Linked DNA regions of Homo sapiens: regions 1, 2 and 3 are each linked to region 4. The links are contacts of gene promoters, found by promoter capture Hi-C in blood cells and fetal thymus (Javierre and others, 2016). All regions are on one chromosome and are shown on one strand. The core of a region is centred on a gene start or on the middle of the fragment in contact, and the rest is flanking DNA. Distances in the headings are between cores, read along the strand shown.

Region 1 (5,740 bases), core at 1,661-4,160, 1.7 Mb before region 4:
TTTCTAACACTGTTGGCAGAGTGACACTATGAAAAGTTTCAGTGGTTTATTGCTCTTAACATAAAAGTAATTGTCTTTAACATTACCTACCAGCCTCTTATCTCCTATTTCACACTGCTCTCCCTGACCAAGCTCCAGCCACATAATTCCTTTCCTTTCCAAAGTTGTTACATTCCTCAGCCCCAACCTCCACCCTACTTCTATTTACACTTTAAAATCTTACACCTTAAAAATCTTACTCTTCTTTTAAAAGTCTCACCTCAAGTGCTATTTAACCTGGTCCTTCCAGACCAATCTACTAAATACTACCTCATTTCTACCACTTGTTAATTGCAATTACATTGGTTTGTGTGATTTCTTTTTCATCATAGGCACTCAATAAATATTGGTTCATTGAATTAAAGGAAGCAAAGTGGGAGTGGGGAAAAGTTGTTTAATCCAGAGACAGTAACATATATTGAGCCTCTGTCTCATACTAGGCATTGGCTTTGATATGCTCCTCACTTTCATTTTTTTAAAAAATATTTATTTATTAAAGAAAAGGTCTTGCCCTGTCACACAGGCTGGAGTGCAGTGACAGGACCATAGCTCACTCCAAGCTCTACCTCCCGGGTTCAAGTGATCTTTTGCCTCAGCCTCCTGAGCAGGTGGGACTACAGGATAATTTTTTGTAGAGGTGAGGTCTCCCTATGTCTCCCCCCACTGATCTCAATCTTCTAGCCTCAAGCAATCTTCCCGCCTTGGCTCCCCAAAGAGTTGGGATTAAAGGCGCGAGCCACTGCGCCCAAGGGTTCCCTATTTTCTTTTTCTCTGAGAGGAGTCTCGCTCTGTCACCCCGGCTGTAGTGCAGTGGTCCAATCTCGGCTCACTGCAACTTCCATCTCCCCGGTTTAAGCAATTCTCTGCCTCAGCCTCCCCACTAGCTGGAATTACAGGCGCCTGCCACCACACCCGGCTGAATTTTTCTATTTTTAGTAGAGATGGGGGTTTCACCATGTTGGCCAGGCTGGTCTCAAACTCCTGGCCTCAAGTGATCCGCCCACCTCAGCCTCCCAAAGTGCTGGGATTACAGGCGTGTGCCACTGTGCCTGGCCTTGGCCTTCCTTTTTTCATTCATTTAATTCTCATAGCAATCTGGCAACAATTACTTCTCAGACACAGAAGCTGAGAATCAGAGGTAACATAAAGACACAGATTAGGGGTACATTAGATATAAATTAAAATTTAAATATAAAGGCTAGGCTCCGTGGCTCACGCCTGTAATCCCGGCACTTTGGGAGGCCGAGGTGGGCTGACCGATTGAGGTCAGGAGTTCGAGACCAGCCTGGCTAACATATCGAAACTCAGTCACTACCAAAAATACAAAAACTACCTGGGCGTGGTGGTGCGTGCCTGCAATCCCAGCTAATCGAGAGGCTGAGTCAGGAGAATCGCTTGAACCCGGGAAGCAGAGGCTGCAGTGAGCCGAGATCGGCTACTGCACACCACTCTGGGCGACAGAGTCAAACTCATTAAAAAAAAAAAATTAATATAATAAAATTTCTCCTAAATCTAAATCCTTTTCTTCACTTTCAGGGTGGATTACTGGACAAATTAACATTTGTATGGCATTTTTACATCTCTATAGCAGTTCTACATTTTGATTTGAAATTTATATTTGCATAAACCTTACAAAAAGTACTCACTTTGGACCTCACAAAAGACTTAAAACCGAGACAGTTAAAAATGACCCAGTTCAAGTCAAGAGGACCTGAGAGCGCTCGGATATGGCCGTTCAGTGCCTGTGCAACGTCTTAAATCCTCTCTTCCTTCAGTTTCTGTCTGCATTGTTCCCAATGTCTGGCTTCTGATTACTCCTAGGTCCTAAGGACGCTGGGAAAAGGGGACGAATTCATTCTCAGCACCCTCGGTTTAGGATCTGTGTCCGTCTAAAGGAAATTAAGGGGTTTCATTCTTTTCCAAACTCAGCTCAATTACCTCTTCCTAAAATCTTTCCTTTAACACCCTTTTCTCCTGTTACCATTTCCCTCTAGCCCCCATATTCAGTTAGTTCTTTCTGACAGGACTAAGCACCTCTTCAAAACAGAAAACCCGGGCCGGGAGCAGCGGCGGGCGCCTGCAGTCCCAGTAGCACTTTGGTAAGCCGAGGTGGGAGGATCGTTTGAGCCTGGGCGGTTACAGTGAATAGTGATGGTGCCACTGCACTCCAGCCAGGGAGACAAAAGTGAAACCCTGTTCCAAAACACAAACCTGAAAACCTAATTTTTTAACTTTTTCTTTTGAGGTGGAGTTTCGCTCTGGTTGCCCAAGCTGGGGGTGCAATGGGGCGATCTCGGCTCACCGCAACCCCCGACTCCCGGGTTCAAGCGATTCTCCTGCCTCAGCCTCCCGAGTAGCTGGGATTACAGGTGTGCGCCACCACACCTGGCTAATTTTGTACTTTTAGTAGAGACGGGGTTTCTCCATTTTGGTCAGGCTGGTCTCGAACTCCCGACCTCAGGTGATCCGCCCGCCTCGGCTGCCCAAAGTGCTGGGATTACAGGCGTGAGCCACCGCGCCCGGCCTCTTTTTTTTTTTTCCCCATCTTTTGACACACTCAACCTCCTCAACTAAACCTAGAAAACCTCATTTCTTACTTGTCTGCTCACTCCAATATACCAGGCTGCAATCATATTCTTGGGCCTTACTCTTAAAATAAAAAAAAAAAAAGTCAAGAGGAGAAAATTCGAAGGCACATTCTTTTCTCCTTAAAGGAAAAATCAGGAGTGCCCAGGGAAGACAGAAACACAAAGACAGACAGAAAACAAATCCACTAAAACTGTACTGACCTCCTTGCCTTTTGCCTTCTCCATACTTGTAGAAGAAGCGGAGCCTCGCAACATGCTTCCAAAATGGCCCCTGCCCCAAGATTGCTATTTGCAAAGTCTCCTCCCACTTCCTGCCGCCCGAAGACCCTTTTTCTCTCCACCTCACCTCTTCTTTTCTTCTCCCCTTCTGTTCCCTCCCCCACAATTTGTAAATGCTAAAATTGCATTCTTTCTTATTCATGGGGTGACTTTTGTCTGGGTTGAATTACTAATACTATTCCTGGCCCTTTTCTGTTCACTTTAAATGTAATTATCCAAAGTATGGTTCCGGAGACATTGGGAGATTGAGCACTCCTTCAGAACGATTCTACGGGGAAAAAAAACAAAAAACAAAAAACAAAAAAACAGTGGCCAGAGACTTGAGCAGGATGTGTGAAGGGATTTAATAATGGAACTTGTGGCAACAGTAGACTTCAGAGACCAGACTGGCGGCTTGAAGAAAGCTATTTTCTCGTACCAAATACATTCCATTTCCTAAGTAAGTTACTCAACCAACTAAAACTCCAGGTTTCTCTGTACTAATACCGAGCATCTTTTCATCTGCCAACGAACTAATAATAGTAGCTTTTAAAGTCTATAGAGTATTTGTTATTTATTTTGTAGAGGGCAAGTGGGGGGGTCTGGCTATTTTGACCTGGCTGGTCTCGAACTCCTGCCCTCAAGTAATTCTCCAGCCTTGTCCTCCCAAAGTGTTGGGATTACAGGCGTGAGCCACCACTCCCCGCCCGAGTATTTTTTTATATCTCAAATTGTGAGTTTTAAATTCAGTCATTATTGTTCCCCATTTTATATATGACTAAAGTTGGTATAAATTTTTATTGGTAACTTTTTCAATAGCACAGTAAGTGAACCCCTAACCTACTGACTCCCAAAGAAGTTCAAGTTTTTCTCCTTAAAATAATTTGAAAAATCTTTCCTCAGATCAGTGCTCCCTGTCAGATTGTCAAGAGATGTGAAGTGAAGGAAGCAGTGGCTGTGCGACTGAAACCCTCCCTTGTCAGGGTCCAAAGTCTCTTTTGTTCTTTGGTTTACTTTGTTGTTTTTTTTTCCTACATCTCATTGCTTGTCCTAAAATGATAAATAAGAGACTGTCTTTATCCAAATGGTGTTAGTAATCTGCTCACAGGCTAGAAATCCACGGACAGAAAAAGTAAGTAAACGGAGCCCAGGAATAGAGAAGGAAGTGCAGGTTGTGGACTGGGCAACCCCCAAGGCGGCAAAGAGGAAACCAGGTGAGTTGAGGTCATCTGGGAGATATTAGGGCTTTGATTTAACAATTCTTTACCACAGCCTTTGGTAACCACCAGTAGGACTTTCTAATTAAGGTTTGTGTATAAAGTGTATAACTGAATCATCTTTCTTTTGTCAGTGTAATTGAACGTAACATTCAGAATAACTGGAGTTCTGGGCTGGGCATGGTGGCTCACGCCTGTAATCTCAGCACTTTGGGGGGCTGAGGTGGGCAGGTCACTTGAGTTCAGGAGTTTTGAGACCAGCCTGGCCAACAATGGCAGAACCCCTTCTCTACTAAAAATGCAAAAATTAGCCGGGCATGGTGCGTGCCTGTAATCCCAGCTACCAAGGAGGTTGAGGCAGGAGAATTGCTTGAGCTGGAGAGGCAGAGGTTGCAGTGAGTCAAGATCGTGCCATTGCACTCCAGCCTGGGTGACAGTGTGAGACTCCATCTCAAAATAAAACATAAAATAAAAATAAAACATAAAAACACAGACACCAAATCCAGGCCAGATTGATTCATTTTTAAATGTAAGGCTTTAGCAGCTAGCCAGACAGGATTTAAACCCAACCTCCCCTTCACTAGCTGTGTGACCTGGGCAATAACGTTAGGTCTCTTTGTTTTCTCATCCATGAAATGAGAGTCATGAAAATAATAGCCTTTACTTAGAGGGTTGTGGGCATGTCTGGAGAAAACAGTGTCTGGAGAAAACAGTGGCTGGCACAGCACATGTTGGGATCAGAAGAGCAGGGCGTGGTGGCTCATGCCAGTAATCCCAGCACTTTGGGAGGCAGGAGAATCGCTTGAGCTCATGAGTTCAAGACCAGCCTGGGCAATATAGTGAAACCCCATTTCTACCAAAAATACAAAAAATTACCAGGCGTGGTGGCGCAGGGGTGCCAGCTACTCGAGAGGCTGAGGTGGGAGGATCGCTTGAGTCCAAGAGGTGGAGGTTGCAGTGTGATCATGCCGCTGTACTCCAGTCTGGGTGACATAGTGAGACCTTGTTTCAAGAAAAAGACAAAAAAAAAAAAAAAAAAAGAGTTGGAGAGGAATGAATTTGAGAGATTTAGGGGTATTCTGGTTGGGTTTTCTTTTATTTTTCCTTTTCCTTTTTTTTTTTTTAAGAGGTCTCCCTATATTGCCCAGGCTGGTCCCAGGTGAAACTCCTGGTCTCACATGATCCTCCAGCTGTAGCCTCCCGAGTAGCTGGGACTAAAGGCCAGCACCCCTAAGCCCAGCTTTTTCTTTTCGCTTTCTTTTTTTATAAAAAGTTTTTTAATTGTGTAAAATGAACTGAATTAATGAGTCCTTTAGTTTACCCGGAGGCAGTGAGTCTTCCAAAGTCATTAATCTGCATCTGCAGAAAACAAACCAGCATTGATTCATATGTAACACTGTTTCCTAACAGAATGGAGAGAGGGGGCAGGAGGTGTGGCTGTGGGGGAGGGAGGGAACCCTTGTCTGTGTCTCTCTGCTGTGTATTCCAGAAGCGCTGAGTCAAAAGCTGGGTTTATTTAATATCTATATAGAGTTCCCCAATTTATAACAGTGCATGAAAATACCTCTTTCCCCATGTCCAAGAGTCTAGTATTTTAACAAGTACACTAGTACTTGACACACCTAATTTATAATAATT
Region 2 (5,388 bases), core at 690-3,189, 1.3 Mb before region 4:
ACATGCAGGCTTTTCCATACATCTTCTGAAATCTAGGTGGAGGTTCCCAAACCTCAGTTCTTGACTTCTGTGTACCCACAGGCTCAACACCACATGGAAACCACCAAGGCTTGGGACATGCTTCCTCTGAAGCAATGGCCCGAGCTGTACCTTGGCCCCTTTCAGTCATGGCTGGAGCTGAAGCAGCTGGGATGCAGGGAACCATGCTGTAAGGCTGCACATAACAGCGGGGCCTGGGCCCAGTCCATGAAACCATTTTTCCCTCCTAGGCCTCTGGGCCTGTGATGGGAGGGGCTGCTGCAAAGGTCTCTGACATGCCATGCAGACGTTTTCCCCATTATCTTGGTGATTAACATTGGGCTCCTTACTTATGCAAATTTCTGCAGCAGGCTTGAATTTCTTCCCAGAAAATGGGTTTTTCTTTTCTATCACATCCTTAGGCTGCAAATTTCCCAAACTTTTATGCTGTGCTTCCTCTTGAATGCTTTGCTGCTTAGAAATTTCTTCTGCCAGATATGCTAAATCATCTCTCTCAAGTTCGAAGTTCCACAGATCTCTAGAGCAGGGGCAAAATGCTGCCCAGTCTCTTTGCTAAAGTATAGCAAGAGTCACCTTTGCTCCGGTTCCCAAGAAGTTTCTCATCTTCATCTGAGACCACCATAGCCTGGACTTTATTTTCCGTATCACTATCAGCATTTTTGGTCAAAGCCATTCAACAGGTATCTAGGAAGTTCCAAACTTTCCCACATTTTCCTGTCTTCTTCTGAGCCCTCCAAATTGTTCCAACCTCTGCCCATTACCCAGTTCCAAAGTTGCTACCACATTTTTGGTTATCCTTAAAGCAGTGCCTCACTATCTCAGTACCAATTTACTGTATTAGTCCATTCTCACACTGCTATGAAGAAATACCTGAGACTGGGCAATTTATAAAGGAAAAAGTTTAATAGACTCACAGTTCTGCATGGCTGGGGATGCCCCAGGAAATGTACAATCATGGCTGAAGGTAAAGGAGAGGCAGGCACATTCTTAATGGAGGGGGAGGACAGAATGAGTGCAAGCAGGGGAAATTACAGCCCCTTATAAAACCATCAGGTTCTGTGAGACTTACTCATTATCGCAAGAACAGCATGGGGGAAACCACTGCCATGATCCAATTACCTCCACCTGGTCCTACCCTTGACATGTGGGGATTATTACAATTCAAGGTGACATTTGGGTGGGGACACAAAGCCAAACCATATCACACTGTATACAAAAATCAACTCAAAATGGACTAAAAACTTAGATTTAAGGCCTGAAGCTGTAAAACTACTAGAGGAAAACACAGGAAAAAAGCTTCTTATCATTAGCCTGGGCAATAATTTTATTTTCGATATGACTCCAAAAGCACAGGCAAGAAAAACAAAAATGCACAAGTAAAATTGCATCAAATTAAAAACCTCTGCACAGCAAAGAAAACAATCAATAGAGTAAAAAGATAACTTAGGCAATGGGGGAAAATATTTGAAAATTGTACATTTGATAAGGGTTAATATCCCAAATATAAGGAACTCTAACAACCCAATAACAGGAAAACAATGTGATGAAAACACTAGCAAAAGACCTGAATAGACATTTCTCAAAAGAAGATATATAGATAGCCAAAACGTATATAAAAAATGTTCAACATCACTAACAATTAGTAAAATGCAAGTTAAAATCATAATGAGATATCACTTCTTACCTGTTAGAATGGCTATTAGCAAGAAAACAAAAGATTACAAGTATTGAGGCAGATATGAAAGAAAGAGAACCCTTGTACACTGCTGGTAGGAATAGTAGATTAGTACAGTCATAAAAAATAGTATGGAGGTTTCTAAAAAAATAAAAAATAAGACTTAATGTGATCCAGCAACTTCACTTCTGTGTATGTATCCAAAAGTGATGAAATTAGTTCTCAAAGAGATATCTGCCCTCCCATGTTAAGCTGCAGCATTTTTCACAATAGCTAAGATATGGAACCAACTTAAGTGTTCATCAGTGGATGAACGGACAAAGAAAACGTGATGTATATACACAATGGAATACTATTCAGCCTTAAAAAAGAGGGAAATACTGTCATTTGTAACAAACCTGGAGGACATTATGCTAATCAAAACAAGCCAGGCACAAAAAGACAAATACTGCATAATCACATTTATATGTGGAATCTAACAATGTTGAACTATAGTAGCAGAGAGTAGAATGATGGTTAGTAGTGGCTGGGGAAAGGGAAAATGGGATGTTAGTCAAAGAGTGCAAAGTTTCAGACAGACAAGTTAAATAAGTTCTGGAGATCTATTGTACAGCATGGTGACCCTAGCTAATAGTAATAATTTCTTAGAGAGTAGATCTTAAATGTTCTCACCACAAAAAGATAATTATTCAAGGTGATGGATATGTTAATTCATTTGATTCAATCATTTCAAGATGTATAAATATATCAAAACATCACATTGTATGCTGTAAATTATATGACTTACTTGTCAGCTATATCTTAATAAAGCTGAAAAAATAAAACAAACTGAAGCTTAAATAATGAATAGAATTACGCCAGAGGGAAATTACGCCAGTGAGAAGATGAACTGAACAAAAGTGTGAAGAAAGGAAAGATCAACAGAAAAGATAAGTAGATAAGAAGGGGCAGAAAGGAGAAAAATCAATATTTGGAAATGAGATTGAAAGAGTATAAGGCACGCTATTGAAGGGCTCTTAATGCTAAATTTAGGAGTTGAAATATGACTCTTCTCAAGAAAACAAAGAAGGGGAACATCACACTCTGGGGACTGTTGTGGGGTGGGGGTTGGGGGGAGGGATAGCTTTAGGAGATATACCTAATGCTAAATGACGAGTTAATGGGTGCAGCACACCAGCGTGGCACATGTATACATCTGTAACTAACCTGCACATTGTGCACAAGTACCCTAAAACTTAAAGTATAATAATAATAAAATTAAAAAAAAAACAAAGTTTTATGAATGTGAGCCTCTAATTGCTGTTTTAAAGAAAAGCGCTTTCTGAACATGTGAGTTAATGTACATGTTCTTAAGCATGAACATGCACATGTAGACTGCTGCTATGATAACATGACACCAGCAGTTACCACCCATGCTGAAAATACTAGAAAAGCTTTGTTTTATTTATAAAGTGAACTAGAGCCATCTTAAAAGATGAGGATGAATGTTGGCCAAAAGTGTTTTGAGGTAATCTTAGACACATCTCTAATGCCAGTACGACCTACTCAGCAATATGATATAATATAATTTATGTAATAATTACAAAACAATGATGCCCTTTAAACTTTAAAAAGTGCATTTGAATGTAAATATAATTTTAAATATGAACAAACTTGACAGTGGAATTCCAGTTTGTCTGCTTCTTAATGAGTTTTGTAAGCTCTTAAAAAAGAAAATAGTTAACCTAATTAATACCTGGGGATGGGAAAGGGATGGTTCTAAATTGTCCTGCCCATTACATATGTTGCATCTATTTATATATTTACCCAAAAAGACCATCTTCATTTATAATTATTAATATAAGTTGAACTGTGGATATAAGATAGAGAGCTAGTTTTATGTTATTAGAATTCAATACTTAGCTCCTGAATTAACATCCATTATCAAAAATGAAGACTAGACTGGTTCCCTTTCAGAATACATTTATAAAATGTCACTTACAAATAAGTGTTTCAGGTTAATTGAGTGACATGCTGTTGTGTAGGCGTTTGAATGCAAAAGTCTGGCTTTTTCTTTCTGCTATGTTCGGAAAACGCTTTTGTCACTTTTTCACCTCCTCATAGGAAATATGCCTGCTTTGTGGTTTTCAATCACTCACTAATATTTTTATAAGGGATATTAAATGTAAAAGACCATATCCTTAGAGGGACGGTGACTCAAAGAGTCAAGTAAAAATTAGGACTGTTTCTGCCCTTGGGTTTTTTTTTTTTTTTTTACTTCAGGTAAACTATGAAATGTACTTGAACAACTTCAGTGATTACATCTGTGAAAATAGAGATTACAATGGTGCGTTAGTCAATTTGTTTCCCTAATACTTCTTGAAACTTTCCTTTCAATTTTTTAATTCCTTGCACATTCTCTTTTTTCATTTGCTCATCCTTCCAACACCATTTATTATTTGTCATTTTTTTTTGCTCTTTTAAAAGTTCACACTTACGTTTGTGCATGGGTCTCTTCTGATGCCTTTATTCTCTTCCTCTCTCTCAATTCAGGGGTGGGGGTCTGTCTTTGCATTAGACGTCGTTTCTGTCTCTTCTCAAGTCCTGACTCCTCTGCTTGGGGAACTGAGAGGGGATCAGAGACAAAGTGCAGATATCTTTTCCCTCAGTTTCCCATGGCTGTTGGTTTCTGTGTTTCTCTGCCAATATTGAGTGAAGGACGTTGTCTACCCATGTCCTCTTTTCAGTATCTGTGTCAGATTCCCAGCAGAAAAAAAAAAAAAAGAAAAAACAGATTTTGGTAAGGAGCTATAATTTTCTATGACATATGTAAAAATACATTTTAAAAATCTAAGTTAGAGAAGTCAATCAATAGTTGAGATGATAACTTACATTCAATATACTGGGGAAGAAAGAGCCACCAATAAAATAAGTTATGAAAGACTCTAAATGGAACCAATGCCAGAGTCCAGAGTGGTTGTGGTCTTTTTAGCTGCTAATTCTGAAAAGTTTTTCTTAACACCTTTAGATCTCTTGAAAACTAAAACTTTCAGATATCTCAACTCCTGAAGGACTAAAGAGACACTTATTTTGGTAGTGTGTGGTGACCATGCTCTGATTTAGTTCAAACTTCTCTCTGAGTAACAAGACCAGCTGCCGTCTGGTTTCTTGCTGGTTTGTTTGCAATAGCAAAGCTCAAACAAGTGTCCCAGCCTCCCTGTGCCTTGCTGCCAGACCAGCATCACCCCTTCCCGATCTTTGAGACATTTTAGGTGAGATCCTGGGGAATGTAGTACCAATTATAAAAGATGACTCCAGTGCTGAGAGGTCAGAGAAATATTTTGGAAGCAACGCAGTAAAGAAAATTGGAGATAAATACAGAGAGGAAATGAAGGCACAGATAAATTATGATCACTACATGTTACCATAACTAAATTGAGGATAGATTTCAATATACTAGCAGTCTCTATTGGATTACTTTTGAAATATCAATTTTCTTTCCAACCATATTAATTGATAACTTTTGTGGTTATTGCCAAAAAACTGAATTAAGATGGTAGTGGATCCATGAAGGCCATAAGCAACTACTGTCATTTGAGTTTGAGAGGCCCAAGCTGTTATCTCATCATTCATGCCCTTCCCGTTCTTCCCAGCTTCTGCATACTATTTGGGACAGATAATATTGGGAGGCACAC
Region 3 (5,798 bases), core at 427-2,926, 1.3 Mb before region 4:
TGTTGTTTTTTGACTTTTTACTAACAACCATTCTGACTGGTGTGAGATCATATCTCACTGCAGTTTTAGTTTGCATTTCTTTGATGACTGGTGATGTTGAGCATTTTTTTCACATTTGTTGGCTGCTTATATATCTTCCTTAAAAAAGTTCTGTTCATATCCTTTCCTCACTTTTTAATAGGGTTATTTGTTTTTGCTTGTTGAGTTATTTGAATTTCTTATAGATTATGAATATCAGCCCTTTGATTGATAAACTGTTTGCATTTTTTCCATTCTGTAGGTTATCTGTTTAATCTGTTGATTATTTCTTTTGCTGTTCAGAAGGCTTTTAGTTTAAGTTACATTTGTCTATTTTCATTTTTGTTATGTTTCCTTTTAAGGACTTAGTAACAAGTTCTTTGCCTAGACCAATGCACAGAAAATTTTTCTTTGGTTTTCTTCTAAGATTTTTTATAGATTCAGGTCTTACATTTATGTCTTTAATCCATCTTGAGTTAATTTGTGTATATGGTGAGACAAAGGGGTCCAGTATTACTCTTCTGCATATGGTTCTCCATTTGTTCGTGTCATCTGTGACTTCTTTCATCAGTGTTCTGGAGTTCTCCATGTAGAGGTCTTTCACCTTCAGGAGATATAATTTGAAGGGCAACCAGAATTCTCTTTAGCCCCATCATATATGTAAAATATCCTACTACTAGATATAATTTTAGGTTTATCTTTTTAGAGGATACATATCTTGGGGGATTTTAATACACTAAGACTGGTTACCTTTCAGTTACATCTTAGCTGAATGGAATTAAGATAATTTCTTTCTACTGAATAAACTGTTTAAGGTAACAAGGACTTCATGCCACACGACTTATATCTCCTATGTAAAGTCCCACCAAGAAATTTGTTCAGATGTTTCAAGAATCAGTGTCTGGAAACACTTGCTTCCCTTAGATACACTGTTTTGCCTCTTTATAGGAAAAGTGAAATGTGTAAATGATTAGTTTAGTAGCAATAAGGACTTTTCTCTGTTTTCACTTTCCCATAAGCTTTGACCTTCTATGTATATATAAGTGAAGTATTAAACTCCCCTTATTCATTTCTAGGTTCATTATCCTATAGTACATGGAATCCAAGGAAGAATTGATCTCCTTATCCCTGTGAATCATCCAGATGTTAACTGCTTCTCAGCATCATGTCCTCCTCGAGATCAATTTGGGAAACTCCTCCCATGGCAAAGACAGCTAGTTGTCTATAATTTGTTTCCTCCTTTTCCTTAGCCCCAGACCCTTGATTTTTAGCTAGGTAAATGTCTATCTATAATAAAGACCCCATTTTCCAGACTTCCTTGCTGCAGGTGTACACATGTGACTAAATCCTAGATGATGAGATGTAAGCTGAAATTGTGTGTGCAACTTCTAAGAAATGTTTCTAAAAACAGCAGCCACACTTTTCTTTGTGGTTGTCTTCTTCCTATTAGAATACAGATGAAATGTCAAGGATTCTAGCAGCCAGCTTCAACAATAAGATGACCTTGAGAAGGTAAACTACCTATAGAAAGTGACAAAAAATAGTACTTATCTCAAAGATACATGTAAATAATAATGAGAAAATGCCTAAGATGTATTTAGATAGTGGTTGTCACATAAAAGTTATTCAATAAACATTTATTGATTTTGATTTAGACTGAATTCTGATTTTGAGGTGAGGGCTATGAATTTGTGTGTGTGTGTGTGTGTGTGTTTCAACACTTATCCATTTGACATCAGATGAACTGAGCATCAGGACCTTAATTTGCACTCAAGTTACCAGACCACATCCACTGGACTATGTGAAAGTTAATCCTAGACTCTCCTGGTAGAAGTTTCCAGACATTCTATTCGATGGGCTAGATCAGATTTGGAGAAATCTAGGGGAATGGAGGATAGATCTTAAGGGAGACCAGCCTTTGAGTCTGGGAGAGCTAAGTTAAGTTTTAAATAACAAAGGCCTAAATAATACAGAGCTTAAAGGAGACAAACATTTTTTTCTTTTATTTGAGGGTTAGTGTAGCCACATTTAAGGACCTGATTAGATATTTTGAACAAACTGCTATCCTTCTCCTTAATTTCTGAGACATTGCAATAGGGATGTCTCTCTTGCAATTAAATTCATTTTCTTGGATATGATTATTAATCAATTTTTAAATTTTTTTCTATTTAAAAAATGTACTCTCATAAACTCCTTCAATCATTGGTGAAATAAGGCAGGGGATAACAATACAAATAAAATTAGGTCTGAGAAACTGTAAAATTACTGGGGGCATGGTGAGAGAAAGAAGACTTTTTGGAAGCTTAGTTGATAATATCTGATCAGTGAAACTGAGTGGGGTTCCCTGAGGGCAGCATGAAGATACTGGCCTAGTTGTCAGGAGACTCCAGACATGGAAGGTCCCTAGCCCAAGGGAAGGCCCTTGGGCTAGTTCTGCCAGTCTCACTATTGCCTCTCTCAATTGGGCTGTCAGATTTTTCTTTTTTTTTTCTGTATTAATGAGAATTATCATAATACAATACCTGTGACAGATCTTTAATATTTACTGAGTGCCAGCGTGGTACAGATGTGCAGAGATGTTTAAAAGGAAAGAACAGGTTTTCCCAGTTTCCTATTGTGAAGGTCATTTCACTTGTTTAGACTTAAAGAAAAATAATGGTGTATATTTTAACAAGCTTTCTCTTCAAAATGAATGTACAATGTGGGAATTTTAGTGAGCACTTAAGGACAGACAAAAATGATAATCACAGGAGGAGAAAGCATAAAAATGAAGCAGGTTCATCAGGTAATAGAAATCATTGTGTTTACTTACTTCTTTCTGAAGTCTAGACAGGTCAATCTATTCTGTGCTCTGCAAAGTATTGAGAATCTGTGATTCTCAATTTTATTCTCTGTAAAATAAAATGAAAACTAAGGATAACCTGAAAGTGAAAAGAATTTGTGGGTAGGGTATAGGAAGAATCTGCAATCCCCAAATGTTGTGCCTTAGTGAAAGGTGCCTAGGTTAATTCCATGCTGCATACACATTCAAAAAAAACTATATATATATATATATATATATATATATATATATATATATATATATATATATATATATCTCCATTGGCCTCCTTTGTACTAGGTGAGGGTATCAGAAGTCAACTTAGGCTAGATTAAGAAAAACAAAAGGGAGAGTTATTGTAAGAAAGTAGGAATATTGCATGGAAATTAAGGACAGGAATGAAGCTGGGCTTCAGGAAATCACAGCTCACAGCTAACACATTCCTATGTTGTAGTTCCATGCACTTGTGGATGGCTGCCTCATTGGCCAAAGTACAAATCTCAGGAGAGAGAAATTGAGCAGTTTGAATCAATGGCCAGAAGTGAGGGACATTAGGGGATGTAGTAAAATAGGGCTGTGAGAGGCCTGCTTTGTTATATTAATGGGGGACCAGAGAAGGTGAGTTAGCCTGTGGTCTAGGCAGGGACCTCGTAAGGTAAACTACTGTGATAAATTTTTGCTCAGCCCCAAAGAACCTGCTTAACTCCCTGTATGTAATCTGAAACAAAGTAGTAAATAAAAATAGATTTTTCATTTACCTCTTGTGTATTCTTCAAGTAACATCTTGCAAATCCTGCTGCTTTAAGTCAGCATAAAGGAATAGATGCTTCGATTAATTTGGTATATTCGCTTTGGAGAGGAAATTGTGAACTGCCTGATCTTTCTGTATTTTGAGGATTTAACACTAGGTAAATTTAAAGCAAATGAGTAACTGAAGACGGACAATTTATTTTCATCGATGTTTTAAAGCAGTAGGGCCTGTGATGCATGTGTTTGTAACCCATCCTTGACATCCAGGGACAGGCCTAGGATTTCCCATAGCAGTTTCCCTGTCATCAAACAACTTCTGAGGCCACATTGAATGAAAGAAGAAAATTGGCAGAGAATATCTAGTCACCTTGTGGGTGTATTTACAAAAAGAGTGATTGATTGGCCTATATTTGCAAAATATAAATCTTGCAAAAGAATTCCTCAGCCATCTTTGGATTGCCTGTGTTTGACGCTGAAAGCTCAGAGTCAATCTCTAGATTCATTGAAATGATGGAAGCAACTGCAGAGGCAGTATTTGCACATCTGATCGTGTCAGCTGAGTATTCTGGAATCTGGAGAAATGGCACTCTGATCAATGTGCAGAAAACCAGCATCTTCAGGCAAGCTGAGAGCAAATCTTGGAGATGCTGTTGATGCTGTTTTTTTTGTCACTCACAGATTATTCTTGGATGTGAGACTCACTACAATTAAGACTGAAATAGTTTCCATTAACCAATATGTGTATATATATATATATATTTTTTTTTTTAAATTATACTTTAAGTTCTAGGGTACATATGCACAACATGCAGGTTTGTTACATATGTATACATGTGCCATGTTGGTTTGCTGCACCCATTAACTCGTCATTTACATTAGATATTTCTCCTAATGCTATCCCTCCCCCATCCTCCCAACCCATGACAGGCCCTGGTGTGTGATGTTCCCCACCCTGTGTCCAAGTGTTCTCATTGTTCAGTTCCCACCTATGAGTGAGAACATGTGGTGGTTGGTTTTCTGTCCTTGCAATAGTTTCCTCAGAATGATGGTTTCCAGCTTCATCCATGTCCCTACAAAGGATATGAACTCATCCTTTTTTATGGCTGCATAGTATTCCATGGTGTATATGTGCCACGTTTTCTTAATCCATTCTATCACTGATGGACATTTGGGTTGGTTCCAAGTCTTTGCTATTGTGAATAGTGCTGCAATAAACATACGTGTGCATGTGTCTTTATAGTAACATGATTTCTAATCCTTTGGGTATATACCCAGTAATAGGATTGCTGGGTCAAATGGTATTTCTAGTTCTAGATCCTTAAGGAATCGCCACACCATCTTCCACAATGGTTGAACCAGTTTATATTCCCACCAACAGTGTAAAAGCAGTCCTATTTCTCCACATCCTCTCCAGCACCTGTTGTTTCCTGACTTTTTAATGATTACCATTCTAACTGGCATGAGATGGTATCTCATTGTGGTTTTGATTTGCATTTCTCCGATGGCCAGTGATAATGAGCATTTTTTCATGTGTCTGTTGGCTGCATGAATGTCTTCTTTTGAAAAGTGTCTGTTCATATCCTTTGCCCACTTTTTGATGGGTTTGTTTGATTTTTTTCTTGTAAATTTGTTTAAGTTGTTTGTAGATTCTGGATATTAGCCCTTTGCCAGATGAGTAGATTGCAAAAATTTTCTCCCATTCTGTAGGTTGCCTGTTCACTCTGATGGTAGTTTCTTTTGCTGTGCAGAAGCTCTTTAGTTTAATTAGATCCCATTTGTCAATTCTGGCTTTTGTTGCCATTACTTTTGGTGTTTTAGACATGAAGTCCTTGCCCATGCCCATGTCGTGAGTGATATTGCCTAGGTTTTCTTCTAGGGTTTTTATGGTTTTAGGTCTAACATGTAAGTCTTTAATCCATCTTGAATTAATTTTTGTATAAGGTATAAGGAAGGGATCCAGTTTCAGCTTTCTACGTAGGGCTAGCCAGTTTTCCCAGCACCATTTATTAAATAGGGAATCCTTTCCCCATTTCTTGTTTTTGTCAGGTTTGTCAAAGATCAGATGGTTGTAGATGTGTGGTATTATCTGTGAGGGCTCTGTTCTGTTCCATTGGTCTATATCTCTGTTTTGGTACCAGTACCATGCTGTTTTGGTTACTGTAGTGTTGTAGTATAGTTTGAAGTCAGGTAGTGTGATGCCTCCAAAATA
Region 4 (5,922 bases), core at 1,722-4,221:
GGTCCACATTTCCTCCAGTGACCTCTATTGATAGAACCCGTCAGGAAGCCAGTCGGTAAAGGAGATACACAGTTTGCAGAGTCCTAGCACCAGCCTTACAAAACCAGGGCAGAACTATGAATACAGAGTGGAGAGATAATAGTTTAATAAACAGCACTAATAACAATTATATCAAGAGTGTTAAGCAATGGTCAGAGTAACCACCTTCCAGCTTAAAAAAACTATACATGATCAATCCTATTGTTCAAGACCTTAAAGAAGTATAAACCTCTACTGAATGAGACATGCACTTGAGTATGCTATGTCATAATAATCATTTAATCATCCAGTTTGGAATCTATATGGCAGACATTATTCTAGGTACTTGGGGTTTTTGTTTTGTTTTGTTCTGGTTTTGGTTTTTTTTGGGGGACAGGGTCTTTCTCCAGCTGCCTAGGCTAGAGTACAGGGATGCAATCTTGGCTCACTGCAGCCTCGACCTCCTGGGCTCAGCTGATTCTCGTACCTCAGCCTTCAAAGTAGCTGGGACTACAAGAGCACATCACTACACCCGGCTAATTTTTTTTTTTTTGTATTTATAGGAGAAAGGAGGTTTTGCTATTGATATGGTTTGGCTGTGTACCCACCCAAATCTCATCTTTAATTGTAGCTCCCACAATTCCCACGTGTTGTGGAAGGGACCTAGTGGAAGGTGATCGAATCATGGGGGCAGGTCTTTCCTGTGCTGTTCTCCTGATAGTGAATAAGTCTCATGAGATCTGATGGTTTTATAAAGGGGAGTTTTCCTGGACATGTTCTCTTGCCTGCCACCACTTTGCTCCTCCTTGCCTTCTTCCATGATTAAGGCCTCCCAAGCCATGTGGAACTGTGAGTCAATTAAACCTCTTTCCTTTATAAATTACACAATCTCAAGTATGTCGTTATTAGCAGCATGAGAACAGACTAACACAGCCATGTTGCCAGGCTCGTCTTGAACTCCTGGACCCAAGCAATCTGCCAGCCTTGGCCTCCCAAAGTGGTGGGATTTCAGGCAGGAGGCACTGTGCCTGGCCTACTTGAGTTTTAACAGTGAAAATATAGATACTTGCTTGCCCTTGTGGACTGTTCATTCTAGTGAAAGGGAACAGACAGTAAATTAGAGACATGTCAGATGGTAAGGGCAATGGAGAAAATAAAGCAAGTTAAGGGCATAGGGATTAGGGTGGGGGAAGCTCTTTCATATGATGTGGTCCTGGAGAGCCTCAATGATAAAGTTAAATTTTATCAAAGATTCAAAGGAAATAGGAGGGAGAAAGTCATATGAGCATACAGGGAAGATCTGTTCAGTAAGAAAGACTTGCATTTAATAAGAGTAAGGTTGGTGAACGTTTTGCAAGTGGATGGACTTTTCTGCGATTTTGCAGTTTGTTTTTTATTATTTGCATAATTCTCTTTACAAAAACTGTGATCCTAACTGGATAACATAAGCTTATTATCAAATATAGTACAAAGTTCAAATATTCTACAAAATATCATTCATCTCTTTTACTAAAGGAAAAGCTATGCGTCCTCACACAGCAGGTTATAGAATTTGCTGATGTTAAGAAGAATTAGCTGAAGTATATAATGTCTTACCTCTCCTGTAAAATACCTCCTTTGTTTCAGAGTCAGCTATGAAATTCTAATAATAGTCTCAAACTTTTCACTTGGATTATTTGAGTAAATGTAAAATGCCCAGCACTGTACATAATTACTTCTTTGTTAAGATGTCAACCTTTGTTTTTTAGTTAAGAGTTAATGAACCTTGATAATTGGCAAACAATCTTTGAGCCGAAAGTAGGATGGACACCATCAGTACTCTTAACCCAAAACAATGAAACTATTGTTGGCATTAGGATTACATTGCTTTCTGTTCAGATAATTTTTTTCTGAAAAAATGCATGTATACTTTGTTATTCAATGGTGTCAGAAATATTAATAAGTTAGCTATAATTAAGTATTCCTTAAACAGTTTGTTATTCAAACAATAAATGTGAACTTATGTATAAAGTTAGAAGACTAAAAATGGCATAGAACGCACTAATACTCTCATGCTAAAGGTTTTAAAAAAATTAATAGTATTTCTGCCCTTGAAAAACATGAGTTGTATATGTAATGTAAAATCTTTTTCTGTGGCCAGTAAAAATTTCCAACAGGAAAGCTTGGGGTGAGTATGTCTAAAATTCACTCATCTGAGGAGAATGTAATTTAAGATTGGGCACTTTTATTATAGAAAGTAGAAATTTGAGTTATCTTACTTTTTAACTTAAAGAATCATCTTGAGAGATCAATGGTGTCCACTGGAAGGCAAGAACTTGGTTCTGGCAGGAAAACCACCACTGGCTGGTAGTATTTGCAGAGCACTTAACCTCTGTGCCTAGGTTCTTGTAGCTGTCAAGTAGATAATAGTAATTGCTACCTTCCGTGGGAAGTGAGCTTGTGCTTTGACATCTTTAGTTGAAGATGCTGTATAAACACAAATTATTATTATTAGAATATAATACATATATGCACATAAAACACCAGCATGGTGCTCTTTTAATGCTTATATAACATCTATAAATAATGCTCTTCCATGCTCTCTCTTCACTTTAGGTCAGAGAATATCATAGCAGACCACTATTCAATTTCTGTAAGTATGGAGGAAATATATTTGTTAAAGCTCCATGTCATCTTTTTGAGACGAACTTAACCTGCTAATTCCTTATGGTCTCTGTAGCAATTGCCCGATGGCCCCTACCCAAGTTAAGCCTTTGGTATTTTTTGAAATGTTGGCTAAATTACTTTTCTTGGAGATGTGGAGCCATCAGGGAAAACCTGGAAGAATGAAATTGGCTAGTGATATTAAAATTTTGGTTGTTTAACATTTAACTGAGTCTCAACAACGTGTTAAAGTGCTATCTAAACAGATAATTAGCTAGTGGCTGCGCAGTGAGCTGTCTAAATTTAGCAGTGAAATTAGGTTTAGGGAATGCGAATATAGAAAAAGAAATTTTCTCAAGGGAAACGGTGGTGTCAGCACAGCTGAGGAATGTCACAATAGCTACATTTTGTCAATTATGATCATCATCAGGGGATCTCCCGGAGCGATGCAGGACAAGGTTTATTCATAAGTGCATCTTGAGAATAGGTGATAGAAAGCCTTGGCTGCAGGAGACAAGCTTACAGGGGACGACAGAGGCAGACAGGCACAGGGAGGGAGGGAAGAGGAAAGGGCTGGAGGGAAAAAGGCACTAGACCGAGCGCTGGGAGACTGGAAGGGAGGCAGAAGTTAAGAAAGAAAAAAGAGGTGGGCAGGGTGTAGAATGGCTTGTAGCCTTGGAGGTTAGTAAAGCCTTGTAATCCAGCGGGCGGAAGGTGGGAAGACCCTATTGACTGAAAGCCGAGGACAGCGTGGTCTTGGCCGCAAGCATGCATTAGTTTAGCTGCGACAGGCTAACTTCTGGGCGGCTGATCCTTGTTCAGCTTTCCTGTTACTGGAACACATTTATGGCTATCTCGTGGAGATGACAGGACCTACATAAAATTAATAGTGTCAGGCCTGAGGACTGGTGTCCTCTGCCTTCAATTCACCCCCTACGCTGGACAGTCCAAATTGTCCACCCTCCTACTCCCCCCGCGGAACCAATGTGGCAGTGGCTCCAAGGTCAAGCTGCCGGTACTGTGCGAGGCGGGAGGATGGAGAGGGCAGGGCGGAGAGCCACCTGGGATGAGCGAGGGTCATGGTGGACCACAGACGCTCTTCTTATACGGGCAAATGTTTAATACTTCCCGAGGTCGCCTCTCTGCCATCAAACGAAAACAGGCAAGAAAATAAAACTACACATACGAACATGCAAAGGAAACAAAACCAAAGAAAAACACCAACGCACTCGTTGGGGGAAATCCATGGCCTCCTGTTGCCAGTCGCCCGGCGCGGAAAGTGGACAGCCCAGCGGCCAGTGAGAAGCAAGAGCAAGAAAGCAAACCTTCTGAAGACCCCTCTCCTCGCCCAGCTCCGCCGACCATTCTACCAAGCTGCCCTCCCAGAAAAAAGAGCAGGAAAAATGCCTGTGCAAACGTGCCTTGGCGAGCGGGGAATAAGTGGGCTGGGAAGAAGGGAAGGATTCGGAGAGCACAGCTGTCCCGGGGAACAGGAAGGAGGAGAAAGTCTCTCCCTCCCTTCAGTGCCCCGCGCCCCAGCGAGGAGGAAGATTACTAGTCCAGCAGGCTGCGTCCAGCTTCCTACACAGGAACCTTTAGCATGGGCAACGGAAGGGCAGCCCCCTCCTGCCTTCCCCTCCCCACCCCACCCCCTCGTCCCAGGTCCCCGCCACAGGGAGAGCGCCGCCCGGGAGAGGAGAAGGCCGAGCGTGATTGTCCCGCAGCCCTCGCCTCAGTCGGCGCCGGGGCCCCCGTGGACCCGCGAGGGGTGGAGTGGGCGAGACCATTGGAAAGGCAGGGAAGGGGGGAAACCAGGCAGGAACGAGGGGCGGGGCCGACTAACCTATTCCAGATTTTCCTGTCCCTTTTAAATCTCTGCTGTGGGAGAAACCCCGTTATCAAAGTGGATGAAAAGAATATTTTTTTTTGAAAGGGGAGGAGCATGTGTAGGAGGGCGGGGTGGGAGGAGACAGGGCTTGCGCCCGGGGATCAGACGGGAGGTGGAGTTGCGCGGGGAGGGCGGGCGAGTCGGGCGCCCGCTCTGAGAGTCGGTTTCTTTTCCCCCTCTTGCGTGGGGCGGGGTGGTGCGTTCCGAGTTCCCAGGAGTTCGACGCGGGCGGGTGCCGAGGGGAGGGGAGTGGCGGCGGCGGCGGGCGGCTCCCGCTTCAGCCTCGGCAGTGGCGTCGGCGACGGCGGTGTCGAGGCAGCCGCCAGCGTTCGGCCAAGTGTCAGCCGGCAGCGACGGCGCTAGAGCTGGGAGCTGGGGACGCGCGCGCCGGACCTTCCACAGCCTCCGCCCAGAGCCTGAGGCGCCGGGGCCGGGGGAGCCGGGGGGCGGGCGGGCGAGCGGGCCGGGGGGAGGGTGGGGGATGGCGCGGACCCTGCGGCCGTCCCCGCTGTGTCCTGGAGGCGGCAAAGCACAACTTTCCTCCGCTTCTCTCCTCGGAGCCGGGCTCCTGCTGCAGCCCCCGACGCCACCTCCGCTGCTGCTGCTGCTCTTCCCGCTGCTGCTCTTCTCCAGGCTCTGTGGTAGGTGAACCTCGGCGGCCGGCGTGGGCTGAGGGAGCCGCCACTGAGGGTGCGGGCGCCGCGGCCGGCTCTGCCAGCCGTTCTCTGGAGCAGCGAGGCGGTTGGTTGTGCGAGCGAGTGCCGAGGACTTTGGCTGGAAACTTTTCGCCGCGCCCGGGGCGAGGCCCTGGAAGGGCCAGGCCAGCGAATGCTGAGCCGGCGGCCCGCTGCCCTCCCCCGCGGCCGCGCGGGTCGCCGTGCGGATGGCCGAGGGTTGGCGATGGTGCTTCGTGCGCCGAACTCCGGGTTTGCTCCGGGGACCGTTACTTCCTCGCTCATTCTCTGGGAACCCTCGTAGGTTAAGGTGCCGGGATGCACGTTTGCCGCTTTTTTTCCCGGTGAAACTTGAGCTGTGAGCCCAGAAACCCTAGGGACCGGAGCCCGATGGAATGAAGCCTCCGGGTCCACTTCTCATGGCCTTCCACCCTGGAGAAGGCACCATTTTAGCCCACCCAGCCGCAGAATCCCCTACAGCTAGTTTTCTTCTGTCTTGTGCCCACTCCCCCGGCTCTGCCCTGACAGCTTCTGGAGCTCTCTAGATTGACCCTCGTCCCTGCCCTCCAGCTTGTGGGACGTCTCTCACACTGCCCGTGCTTATTTTACCAAACCGCAGGAACAAGATTTACGTGTTAAATACCTGATTTCATGGACTGTGTGCCCCGGCTGTTCTAACCAAAACAGTCACGCGCCTGT

The links. Contacts are between HindIII fragments. The CHiCAGO score rates a contact against its expected background, and 5 or more counts as called.
Region 1: the fragment with the promoter of DPPA4 here is called in contact with the fragment with the promoter of NECTIN3-AS1 in region 4 in 6 of 17 cell types (M2 macrophages, M1 macrophages, M0 macrophages and 3 more); the score reaches 9.1 in M2 macrophages.
Region 2: a fragment that was not itself captured here is called in contact with the fragment with the promoter of NECTIN3-AS1 in region 4 in 5 of 17 cell types (endothelial precursors, total CD8 T cells, total CD4 T cells and 2 more); the score reaches 10.3 in endothelial precursors.
Region 3: a fragment that was not itself captured here is called in contact with the fragment with the promoter of NECTIN3-AS1 in region 4 in 1 of 17 cell types (endothelial precursors); the score reaches 6.4 in endothelial precursors.

What each region holds. Positions count from the first base shown.
Region 1 is chr3:109,334,636-109,340,375 of GRCh38, forward strand. It overlaps DPPA4 (developmental pluripotency associated 4), which reads right to left and starts at 2,911. Exons shown (of 7, transcript NM_018189.4): 1 at 2,829-2,911. The coding sequence starts at 2,882. RefSeq lists enhancers at 1,191-1,799, 1,800-2,408, 2,409-3,016, 4,235-4,842. The HindIII fragment of the contact is 8,399 bases long and covers 1-5,740 here.
Region 2 is chr3:109,737,432-109,742,819 of GRCh38, forward strand. All of the region lies in intron 2 of LOC124906267 (a long non-coding RNA gene), which reads left to right. Among named protein-coding and RNA genes, the nearest start is that of MIR4445, 140 kb to the left of the region's middle. The HindIII fragment of the contact is 1,213 bases long and covers 1,334-2,546 here.
Region 3 is chr3:109,721,608-109,727,405 of GRCh38, forward strand. All of the region lies in intron 2 of LOC124906267 (a long non-coding RNA gene), which reads left to right. Among named protein-coding and RNA genes, the nearest start is that of MIR4445, 120 kb to the left of the region's middle. The HindIII fragment of the contact is 1,283 bases long and covers 1,036-2,318 here.
Region 4 is chr3:111,066,988-111,072,909 of GRCh38, forward strand. NECTIN3-AS1 (NECTIN3 antisense RNA 1) reads right to left here and starts at 2,972. Exons shown (of 4, transcript NR_045114.1): 1 at 2,803-2,972; 2 at 2,277-2,484. LOC151760 (putative uncharacterized protein LOC151760) reads right to left here and starts at 4,779. Exons shown (of 4, transcript XR_007096272.1): 1 at 4,505-4,779; 2 at 2,277-2,484. NECTIN3 (nectin cell adhesion molecule 3) reads left to right here and starts at 4,829. Exons shown (of 6, transcript NM_015480.3): 1 at 4,829-5,190. The coding sequence starts at 5,031. RefSeq lists a silencer at 4,557-4,656. The HindIII fragment of the contact is 1,000 bases long and covers 2,178-3,177 here.